Linked DNA regions of Homo sapiens: region 1 is linked to region 2. Evidence: promoter capture Hi-C in 16 types of primary human blood cells and fetal thymus (Javierre and others, 2016). All regions are on one chromosome and are shown on one strand. The core of a region is centred on a gene start or on the middle of the fragment in contact, and the rest is flanking DNA. Distances in the headings are between cores, read along the strand shown.

What was found. The method cuts DNA at HindIII sites, captures the fragments that hold promoters and counts their contacts. A CHiCAGO score of 5 or more calls a contact.
Region 1: a fragment that was not itself captured here is called in contact with the fragment with the promoter of LRP12 in region 2 in 1 of 17 cell types (M2 macrophages); the score reaches 5.2 in M2 macrophages.

Annotation. Positions count from the first base shown.
Region 1 is chr8:104,681,704-104,687,689 of GRCh38, forward strand. No RefSeq gene overlaps it. Among named protein-coding and RNA genes, the nearest start is that of LRP12, 95 kb to the left of the region's middle. The HindIII fragment of the contact is 1,799 bases long and covers 2,750-4,548 here.
Region 2 is chr8:104,584,421-104,590,675 of GRCh38, forward strand. It overlaps LRP12 (LDL receptor related protein 12), which reads right to left and starts at 4,838. Exons shown (of 7, transcript NM_013437.5): 1 at 4,399-4,838. The coding sequence starts at 4,477. RefSeq lists silencers at 3,997-4,106, 4,537-4,876. The HindIII fragment of the contact is 14,799 bases long and covers 2,583-6,255 here.

The DNA.
Region 1 (5,986 bases), core at 2,399-4,898, 96 kb after region 2:
TCTATCTATATATCTATCTATAACTATATCTATATCTAGATATAGATATATATAGAGAGAGACCTGCATAAGGATGACTCTCAAAAAATCACCTTTAGAGAGTTGAGACTTATAGCTTACATGCTTACATGTCCTTAGCAAATATGGGTGGATAAATGAATAATGAATAGACAGGTGAATGAATAAGTGTTTCTCCTAAACACAAAGTAAGTACCAGTATGGCAAAGCCTGATTCCATATAAAGCCCTCCGATAATTTACCAGACTGTCAATTTTACCAGGAAATATGTCTGTACTCTTTGCCCGAGGATGAATACTCAGTAGACTCTCTGGGCTCAACCTGGATATGGTATATTTGACAGCTTTAAATAGAGAAAGAAAGCTACACTCCTGCATTCATCCCAGCTGGTAAAGGAAAGGCAGATGCTCAATACAAATATTTTAGCAAGTTACAAAGACAGCGAGGAAGAAAAAGGTCAGACTGAAAATAATGCTCTCTCAGAGGAAACATTTGGCCAAGGAAAGTCACAGATGCAGTATCCTTGGTCTAAAGGGAACTATAACCCATATGACTTCAGCCTGAGTTGCCACACAGATGGCAAGTTAGGGGAAAATAAGGCAGTTAAGGAGAAACTGAGGTAGTTTAAAGAGAATGATAATACCCAGGATATGGAGAAATTGGCACATCATATAGATATAGTACACATGGAAATGTATATCAGAGCTGCATTTATGCAAAATACTCTGATCGTATGTCTCATGCCTTCTAAACAAGCAAATCCACTTGGGAGAATTCATACTAAGGAAAGTTTCAGGAGTTTGTACTTAGATGTGTGTAAGAATGTTGAGCTGAGTGTTTGGTTGCTTTTATAAAAAGAAAGAAATGGAAACAAACATTAATGAGAGGTACCTGGTTAAATTATAGCACATCTGTAAAATAAATATTATGCAGTAATTAAAAATGACACTGATTAATATTCATGGATATGAGAATATACCCAATATATTCCCACATACTTTTAAGTGAAAAAGCGTATTTTAAAGTAGTGTGCATAAAGTGATCCTGCTTCTTGTTGAAAATATTAATGGAGATATGGCTATAAATACATGTGTATTTTAGATATTCTGAAAGGTTATGCCATGATATTTGCAGTAGTTGTATTTGGATGGCAGAAATTACAGACATTTAAAGTGTGTTTGCCTATCTTAATTTTCTGTCTTTCTATAAGGAATATATGTTAAAAGTATATTAATATAAGTTAAATTAACTTTAAAAGGGAAGATGGGGACATTGACAAGTCAACTACATCCTCCCTTCTCACATTTCATTCTTAAAGACCCCACTCTCAGTTCCTGGAAGAAGTGGTAGACGTATTATGTGTCATGGAACCCCATCTATCCTAGACATCCCCCGGGGCATCTGGAATTGAGATACTGACAAGCAGAGGCAGATGATGAGTGCTTGAACTGAAAGGTCATATAGAGCAGAATCCAGAGTTGTCACTGCTGTAAGTCAAACCACATGCAACTGAAATATGGGAGAATACAGAGGCCCTAAATAAACCCAGAAAGCCAGCTTGCAGAGAAGAAACAGAGATGAAGGCAGATGTCCAGAGAGGAACAGAACTGAGAGACCAAGGGGCCCACTGAGGAATGGAAGGCACAGCCTTGCTATCAAACCCTCCAGTTCTGATTCCTACATGGCCCAATTCTATTTCATTTCTGGCTCTTAGAACATTTATAAAATTGTGTGTGTGTGTGTGTGTGTGTGTGTGTGTGTGTGTATTTAAATAGAAATCCCATTTACCCAAATAAATTGGAGTGAGATCCTGTTCATTGAGGGACTTGATGAAGACAGAAATGTATATCCCAAAACAAACATCAGGGTAGGGCAGTAGTAGTGGGCTTTGAGTGAGCTACCATCCTCAATGCGCCATCATCCACAGATTGTGGGAGGCTTCCCATCATATCAAACACTATCTTAGTTTGTTCCTGCTGCTATAAGAAAATACCTTAGATTGGTTAATTCATAACAACAGAAATCTATTTCTCATAGTTCTGGAGGCTGGGAAGTCCATGATCAAGGGGCCGGCAGATTTGTTGTCTGGTGAGGGCTTGCGCTATGCTTCCAAGATGGTGCCTTGTTGCTGTGTCCTCACATGGCAGAAGGACAAAAGGGATGAATTCGCTCCCATAAGCCCTTTTATAGGGGTCTAATCCCATCCATGAGAGCAGAGTCCTTATGGCCTTGTCACCTCCTAAAGATCCCACCTCTCAATACTGTTGCATTAGACATTAAGTTTCAGTATGCATTTTGGAGGGACACAAATATTCAAACCATAGAAAACACCAAACTGGGATTTTTACTTTTCTGTTCTTGGCCATGAAAGCCATGAAACTGGTGACAGCATTCTCTTTCAGTAACCAATTGAAAAAAAAATGAGAAGTAAAACCTTGACAAATGTTTCTCCCAAGGCAGGTGTTAATTCCTAACTGATATCTACCAAAAATGTGATTTTGTGAATGTCCTTAAAGGCCTTTAAAGGTGAGGAATTTTACAGTGAAGCTCTCCTATTAAGTATTTTGAATTTGTTGTGCAGAACTTAGCCTAATGTGCTTGACAGCCTTGGCGAAAAATGCACGATATAAATGCATCATCAATATAATAATATAAATTGAATTAGAATGCTCATTCTGTTCTGCTGAGTTTCTTTCCTGAGCTGATTATGTCTGAAATGGCTCTTGTTAGAAGCTTTCTCATTATGAGGAACTCACTGTTCTGTTACCAGCTCTCTGTCAAGTGCCACCTGTTTGGCACTTTTTACTCTTATATTTTTAAAGTCAAGTAGCCCATCATGTTAATATTTGAAGTTTAGAGTCATGGCATTAGAATTGCAGCATGCAGCTTCCCTTGGTTATGTTTTTTGCTAATAGTGTCTTAGTCTGTTTTGTATTGCTATAACAGAGTACCACCCACCAGGTAATTTATAATGAACAGTAACTTATTTTGCTCGCAGTTCGGGAGATTTGAAAGTCCAAGAGCATGGCCCTGGCATCTTGTGAGGGCCTTCTTGCTGTGTCATCCTATGGCTGAAGGCAGAGGGCAAGAGAGTACTAGAGAGAGCAAGAGAGGGCTGATATTGCTTTTATTAATAACTAATGCATGTGGGGCTTAATACCTAGGTGATGGGTTGATAGGTGCAGCAAACCGCAATGGCACACGTTTACCTGTATAAAAAACCTGCACATCCTGCACATGTATCCCGGAACTTAAAATTAAATTAAATTAAAAAAAATCCACTCCAGTGATATTGATCCATCTGTAAGGCCAGAGTCTTCATGATCTTATCACCTCTTAAAAGTTTCACCTCTCAACACTACTGCATTGGGGATTAAGTTTCCAATACATGAACTTTGGGAAAAGTATTTTACAACTAATAATAGTAAGTTTCAGTTGCATTTTGAAGAGTAAAGGATGACAGTTTGGCTATTTGCTTGTTGACAAGGTCAAATGGTGGCCTGACAAATAATGATCCCAACATTTTCTCTAGTAACCTTCTAGTTGCATAATTTATCTTTGTGAAAAAGTTTGGACTATTGGCCATGTCCTAAATCACTTTCCATTTGAGTGAACTGAAGTGTCTAAATTATTTATTGCTAGAGATAGGTCTTTTAAAAATAACTGATAGACTTTATTTTTTAGAGTAGTTTTGGAATTACAGAAAATTGAGCAGGAGGTAGTACAAAGAGTTCCCATACGCCTCTCTTCCAACTCCTGCACCAAGTTTTCCCTATTATTAATAACTTACATTAATATGGTACATTCGTTGCAATTAATGAACCAGCATTGTTACATTATTATTAGCTAAAGTCCACAGTTTATTCAGATTTCTTTAGTTTTTACCTAAAGCCTTTTTATCTGTCCCAGGATCCCATCGAGGATGCCACATCACATTTACTTGTCATGTCTTCTTAGGCTCCTCTTGGCTGTGTAAAACAAACCAAAATGAGTAAGAGTCCAAAGAGCACACTCTAGGACAAGAAACACAGTTCCTGAGATTCACCTACTCCTTGTGACTCTTCCGTGAGGCATGCACCCCTCTTCCTTTACATTTGTTTATCCCTAAGTATTGATAATCCAGCTGTAATTTTCACAAATGACTATTAAAAAGCGAGGCATAAGAAAAATTCAAAATGTATAGAAAAAACAAATAGTTCAAGGACGATACACTCTGTGAATTATAGCATTTGTATCTACCATCCCAGTACAAGTATCAACAGCTTTATCAAACCCCACTGTTCTTTATTCTAATATAAAGCTGGTATGGTTTTTTTTTTCTCCCTCCTAGTGTCCTAGGTGACTTGGAGACCTAGTCTGATTACTATCGATGTTCCTGGCCTTCTGATGTTTCTTTTATGCCCAGTCAAGTACCAAAGTCCTTTCTTTATTAAAAAAGTCAAACCTCTTCTGAGTTTGAAGTTTCTAGATAATTTTTTCCTACTCAGTTTTAGTTTCTAGTTTGAGATACCTGCTGAAGTGGAGAGACCAAGCTTTAGAATGCCTGCAAAGTCTATGGTTTTCTTTTAGAGGGCTACCTTCCTTCCTTCCTGAAGGAAGGCTGCAGGCAGTTCTTTAAGCAGATAATGTTCCTGTTGGCGCCATGAGACCCTGTCTTCTTGGGCAAGGCTGATTAAACCAGATGTAGATTTCTGGCTAAAGACAAGCTATAAGCTATGAGGTCATGGAATAAGAGGTTTGTTCAACCAGAACAATGGGTATTAAATGAGACAAATCAGAATTTCTGAAAAGAAATCTAGAGGATGAAGGCAGCAAGGCCATAAGGGAGAAGGGTCTTAAAGGTTTGTGAGTAACAGAAGTTGTGAGTGAGCAGAAGTCACAAGTAGACCAAAGTGATGAGTAAGTGGACACCAGATGGCATAGGTGTTATTTGTAGCAGTAGGAGAGGTAGAAGGAGCTGACTCGTTACATTAGCAGAACTCTCTGAACTCCTGGGTCTGAGAGGGAGTGACAAGGTAACAGAGGCCTAGAATTGCCTCTGTTCCCAAGCCAGCTTCCAGTTCCTGAGCTTCATTCCTTCTCTTGGTGTGTGTGTGTGTGTGTGTGTGTGTGTGTGTGTGTGTGTGTCGTGGGGGTGGGGGGTCTTTTATTTCCTTCTCTTGGAGATCCAATCTTTCAAATATTTTGAGTGTGCTGTCATCATTTCCAACCTTACACTGTATAGATTTTGTTCCTCAAGGTAAAATAAGGGAGGTTTAAATAGCACATGTGCCTGTCTCCATTCAAGCTGGCAGGAGTTGTGATTAAGGCTGCAAGTCACCTAGCCCTCTCTGGCTCAGCTTCTTTGCTTTGCACATCAGAGAGAAGTTCCAGGTAGTTTTATAGAGTATTGGTCTTCACCCCCAATATAGGGAGATAGCCTTATAAAAGTCTAATTAGACCATCCTGGCTAACATGTTGAAACCCTGTCTCTACTAAAAATACAAAAAATTAGCTGGGTGTGGTGACATGCACTTGTAGTACCAGCTACTCGGGAGGCTGAGGCAGGAGAATCGCTTGAACCCAGGAGGTGGAGGTTGCAGTGAGACGAGATCATGCCACTGCACTCCAGCCTGGGCAACAGAGCGAGACTCTGTCTCAAAAAAAAAAGTCTAATTAATGCAATAAAAATTATGTCATGGGTAAAAAAGTTTATATTCCCCTCCCCAAATTTCCTTTGCCAACTCTCATCCATTTACATTGAGTTCTTCTGTTAACTGACTTAGCAGAATCAAGTTAGTTACTCTGTTGAATTTTTGACTGGTTATGTCTGGGTTCTCTCATAAGCCTTCTCTTCTAATAATGAGCTGTTAATATTTATATATGCAAGGTAATGTTCTAAAAAATGTACATGTATTAATTCATTTAATCTTCACATCAACCCTGGAAGGAAGGTACACTCATCATTCCTCTTTTGTATGTAAGGACA
Region 2 (6,255 bases), core at 3,588-6,087:
ACAAAAAGGCCCTCTTGTTCCCTTAATATTTTAATAAGCTTTAAATTTTCTAATTACAAAAGTAAATCTCAACATTTTCTTTAACTGCTGCTCACTTTTCAGGCTAAAATCCCTTTTATGTTCTTCAAAAGAAATTTTACTTTCTAGGAACCTTATAAATCATTTACCATACATCATTCAAATCTCCTCCATACTCTATCTAGAATACAGTTAACAGTGCTTGTTTAATACTTTCTGCCCTGATAACCACCTAGAATTTTGTGGAATGTGCTGCCCACCTTCATATTCTCCCAAGGATATGGATATAATTTAGATTCTGAACTCAAGGAAGGGTTTATGTTAAGCAATTAATTCAATTTTATTCAACACATTTTATGTAATCAAACTTGACTTTGTAAGAAGTAATTGGTATCTGGTTTAGATTTTTCCCTCATGTTCCAGTTACTTCTACAACCTTTCTAAAATTGGAATTTCTTGTCTACCCTTAAACCAGTTATTAAGTGCTACTGAACATTCCATAAAATTCATGGGAAAAGATTCATCCATTACATATATGCAAAGTAAAAAGATTATTTTAGGCTACCACAACATCTAGAATACTACTGTGAACAGTAAAGACTCTTGACTGTAATAAGCTGAAAACCAGTTTAAAAATGAATTTTATCACAAGTCAATCAGTATATGCTGTGAACAGTTCTACGACTATCAAATGCTCTGGCAGCAAGTAACCAAAAATTAACCATCTGCAACTCTTGAAGTTTATTGTAAAATGATATACAAACAAGAAACATTCTAAATTACATTTATTTATTTATTTATTTTTTGAGACAGAGTTTCACTCGTCACCCAGGCTAGAATACAATCGTGCAATCTTGGCTCACTGTAACCTCCACCTTCCTGGTTCAAGTGATTCTCCTGCCTCAGCCTCCTGAGTAGCTGGGATTACAGGCATGTACCAGCACACCTGGCTAATTTTTGTATTTTTAATAGAGACGGGGTTTCGCCATGTTGGCCAGGCTGGTCTCAAACTCCTGACTTCAGGAGACTCACCCGCCTCAGCCTCCCAAAGTGCTGGGATTACAGGCTTGAGTCACCACGCCTGGCCTCTAAACTATATTTTAAGGCTTCATCTTGGGTAGTGTTTTTCAAGCTAAGGACTGCAATTTATTAGTGGATCCAAAATTTATTTAATGAGTCCAGACCAGCAAATGAAGAAGGGAAGGGTGAGAAAGAGGAGGAATAAATAGAAAACATCTGAGTGCACAGGTAGTTAAGAGTACGATTTCATTAACTTTTTTCTCTATGTACATAGTACCCGAAGCAATGTGTATTTTAAGGGTGGGTTTGAGTAAAAGTTAGGAAACACTAATCTGGGAGACAAACAGAAGTGGAAAGGATAAAGCAACGGAACTGTCAGAATTACCAAATTGTGGTTTAGGAGGTGAGCAAGACTAACAGCTTCTATTGACTAGGAGACAGAGGTTTTGGAAACTCCCATAGATTTGTAAAAGCGAGACATCCCTATGTGAAAAATGACAAAGCACTTTTTCCTCTTACAGTAAGCCTAGGACAATGCGTAGCAAAGCTTGTGGTTGTCACCACTGATATTTTTATCCCTTCAAACTTTCAAAGGTGGCAGAGGTCAACCTTTACTCTCTCCTAACTCTTAGGCACATTGAATGCGGTTAAGATACAGTAGCCCCTGAAAGATAATTACAGGTCCTTGAACAACTACTTCTAGAAAACATTATATTCTAGATTACAATTTAGAGTTTCAGGTAAGACTCTGGCATTCAGAAAAGTTAATTTGGAAGTACAACAGTCACATATCAGAGCCCATAAAATCGTCATCTGGAAAGTAGCACCAAAATAAACAACAAAAAATTTTTTTATGTATGTGAAATGTTTCAAAAATCTGAAGCACACCTTAGAGTCATTTCATTTAAGAGTCACTCTGTGAAGAATTAATATTGGAGTTCCCTAAATATTGGCCAATCAACCTGCTTTTCTTTGTTAACAGTGATTGTGAATATTCAGTTTCATTAACAGAGCTAATTATTTTTGAAGCCTTTTAAAACACACACACACTTTTTACTGTATAGAGGACAGTTTCATAAATTACAGCTAGTATCTGTTCTAACAGGCTCAAGGCGACAGCTATTTCTCAGGATGCATCCACCACCCATTACAACTACTATATATTCTAAGTTACTCAATTCCCACTATTGTTATAGAACCACATCCACCCCATACTATTGTTACAGCCCTTTTTCACTATTATAAACCCACATATGGTTAGAGACAGAAGAGGACAAAAAACATGCAGCCATAAAGAGGATTTCTCAGTTCCAGGGTGAAGGGTTCCCTTTAATCTCTGCTGATATAGTTTAATGTTCTGCCTGGTTCACTACCTCCTTTTTTTTTTTACACTTTGAAACCTGCTGTGGCTTGAGACATCAACCTTTGGCATAATCACCTGCTGGTTTTATAATCTGCGGCCCACACTGTTGGAAAAAGGAGTTTCAGTCTTTGCTTACTAACAATTTGTGTTCCTCACTGAACACAAATTCCAAAAAGATAAAAGCTTTGATAGGCACCTACCAGAAAGTCACTTTGTGTACAAGTACTAAAGAATGCACCAAAACAAATTGAGGGGTTCACAGCCTCTTATCCCTCGAGGCAAAAGACTTCTAGTTCAAACACTGATGACACAGGTTTTAATGAAAGAAGAGCCCATTTATTTATCTATTCTGATCGGACATCACAGAAATTCAATGCTTATTATAGTAGAGGACAAAGCTGGACAATCCTAATCACCCTAAATTAAAGATACCTCTCAATTTCTTCTCTCTCCTGGGCCATTACACCAAACCTAGAGCAGAACTATACCCACCTTCAGGGCAGAAGAAACAACGTAATAGCTTATTGATCTCTGGTGTAGACCCAAACCCACAAGTCATCAGGCAAGCAGGGATTACAGCCACTTGATGCAGCTAACAATCAAAAGTCGTGTACTGGGTTTTTGGTCCCACACAAGCACACCTCTGGCAATTACCCCTACATAAAAAATGGACCAAACTACTCTCCTCACCAAAACAAACAAAAATACTACTAATCAGGTACGGGAGCAACACATCCTTAATTGTACCAAAAAGAATTTCTTGGCTGTCAGTAAATGCCCAATTACGTTCATTAATTCTTCATTTAGCGTCACTTGCCAGGTTTCAAAAGCCACCATCACATTCAATTCCGTAGATAAATGCCTTCAAAAGAGATAACACTTGCTGACAAATTGGCTGTTGACTAAACCTCACCACCACCACCATTATACTAGTCAAATCAATGTTTGTGGCAAATGAATTAGACTTTTTATAAGTAAAATTTACCAAAGTAATGATATCTTCTAATTCTTTTTCTGGAGAAATCAGAGCAACACTCCAAAAAGGAAAGGTTAAAACTGAGCTCTCTGAAATACCTATTCAGTGTGTTTAACTGATGAACTAAGAACGGTGAAGTCAGAAGTGTAACTTAATTATCTTAAGAGATAGATGTTCTTTGCAATTAATTCCATTCAGCTCTTGCTCAGACCCCAACGCAATATAAAGCTGTCCGCACAGTCTTCAGCCTTCTCTTAACCCGAAAGGAGTTATCTCTAACCCGATCCATCGACTGGAATAAAGTAACAGTGACCACAGCGGCGGACGAGGATGGATGAAATTACAATTGAACTAGGAGTCAGGACAGATGTGTACACCCTAACAGGAGAGACTGAGGTGGGGCTGGAAACTATTTTCTGGCCTTCTCCCGCGTGCTGCTCCCGGGGAACCAACAGGACCCTGCACGCCCGGATTCGGCAGAGCCCTTGCCCCCGAGGTGGAGTGGGGAGAAGTCAGCGGGAAGCCTTTTCAGGGAATCGAGTAGGACAAGGGCTGGCGCGGTGGGAATCTCGCCGGTGAGAGAACTTCCTAACCCCGGGTTGAGGGGGCGGGGGGAAGGACCGTCCCGGCAGCGGCGGGGGCGAGCTCCTCTGCTTTCTCACAGTCAAGCATCTTTGTGTGTGGATTGTGCCAGGCTACGGGTCCTGGAGCAACTGGCCGCGGGGGCCCTCGAACCCAGGTCGGGAAGTCCGCCCGCCACCCCCTCGCTCCGCCGGGGCCCTCCCGGCCGGGCCCCCCAGCCCCTCTCCACCACCCGAGGGTCTGGAGGTGGACGAGTGGAGAAAAGCATCTCCGTGTGGGGACACCCGTTCCGCCACATCCACCCCCTCACCGGTCTTTGTCCCGCCGGTAGCCAGGGTCTCCGCGGGAGTCTCCAGGGGAACCCCCGTCCTGGAGGCCTCGGGGCCCGGGTCGCCTCAGCTTTGTTCGGTCAGCGGGGCGCGGGGACGCGGACACTTACCGTACACCCCAGCGAGGAAAAGCAAGAGCAACGCAGACCTCCACCGCGGAGACTCTTTTGTGCTCCAGCGACAGGCCATAACCACAGCAGATGGAGAGAGAGAGGAGGAGACGGAGGAGGAGGGAGGAGAAGCTGGAGGTAGACGACGCCGACGCCGCCGCCGCCGCCGCCGCCGCCGCCGAGCCACCGGCTGCTCCCTGCGCTCTCCGCGGCTGCGGGAGGGGGAAGGGAGGGGCCGCCGCCGCCCGCGCGCGCTCCCTCCTCCCTCCTCCCTCCGGCTCGCCTGCTCCCACCCCGGGCGGTGCGAGAGCCCCACGCGGGGCGGCCCTCCTGGGGGCAAGGGCAAGGAGCTCGCGCGCCAGCGCGAGACGAGAGGGTGGCGGACGCCGGACTCCGGCCTCGCGCCGCTCGGGCTAGCCGGCGCCGCCACTCGCCAGACTGAGCGCGCGCCCATCCGTGCGATCGGCAATCCCCTGGCCCGCCTGCCTCGGTTCCCTCCCCGCGCTCCGCTGGACTTTCCAAGTTTCGGGCCGATTTCCACGCGACGGGAGCCCAAGGAGCAAGGCAGCGCCAATCGATGACAGAGCGTGCGAACGCCGGCTGCTGGATGCCCAGGGGCTGGAGCGCGGGGTGTGTGGAGGAGCACGGTCGCTGTCCGAGGGCTGGGCTCTGGCCCAGCGGGTGGGGGGAGGGGGGGTGGGATACCAGCTGGGAGGCTGAAGGTGGTTCCGTGTTGGGGGAGGCGTGGATGGTCTGAAGCTGACAACTTGGGAGTTCCTTCCTCTATCCGGTACCCCCAAGTCTCCACTTGCTGTCGGCGCGGAGCTTCGAGTGGGGGTGGGCTCAAGTTAGTGCGGCCAACCTGGCAGCTGGTCGGTCAAGGGGCAGTGTGGACTCCCACGCTCAAGGTGCCCGGAATGAGTCGGGCAAGGCTTGTGCAGAGCCCCTCCAGTCTGGCGTGGAAGCGCCAAGAGGTCATTTGACATCTCACGCTGGGTCGGGTGCAGCTGGGCCAGGATGTTCGGCAGGGCTGGAGCCGACTTTCAGGGTAGATATATTGAAAGGAGGATTCGCCCATCACGCTGCAGTTTCCCTAAAGCTCTTTTCTCACTCCCAGCAAATGGGAGTCCTCCTTTACTTAGATCCCCAGAACACTTTTCTAAGTACGTCTGTAGTGACGCTGGCACATCAGACCTTACCCCCTGTGTTTTTAAAGCGTTTGTCTACAACGTCTTATTTATATTAGATTTTATCGTTGCCCTTTGCAAGCACTCTCCATGCTATTCATTGAAGACCTACACTGCATCATGCTGTCCTATTGACATAGGTTGTCACTTTTTAATCCCAAACATCCTTGTGAGATAAATATTACCCATGTTTTATAGAAAAGAGAGAAATTAAATTACTCATGGCAAGTAAGTTGTTTGAAACAGTTTTTCTCATTCCAAAGTAAAGATTGTTGCCCCTATACCACAGCAAACTCTCTAGCACAATGCTTAGCGCCTAGTAATGTGTCGGAGTTGGTGCCTGCCAGGGGGTTCGTGGTCTCCCTGACTTCAAGAATGAAGCTGCAGACCTTCCCGGTGACTGTTAACAGCTCTTAAAGATGGCACGGACTCAAAGAGTGAGCGGTAGCAAGGTTTATTGCGAAGAGCAAAAGGACAGCTTCCACAGCATGGAAGAGAACCCCAGGTGCTGGCTGGTGGTGGCCAGCTTTTATTCCCTTGTGGTCCCCTCCCATGTTCCATTTCTGTCCTATCGGAGTGCCCCTCTTTCAATCCTCCCTGCGATTGGCTACTTTTGGAATCCTGCTGATTGGTGCGTTTTACAGAGTGCTGATTGGTGCATTTTACAGAG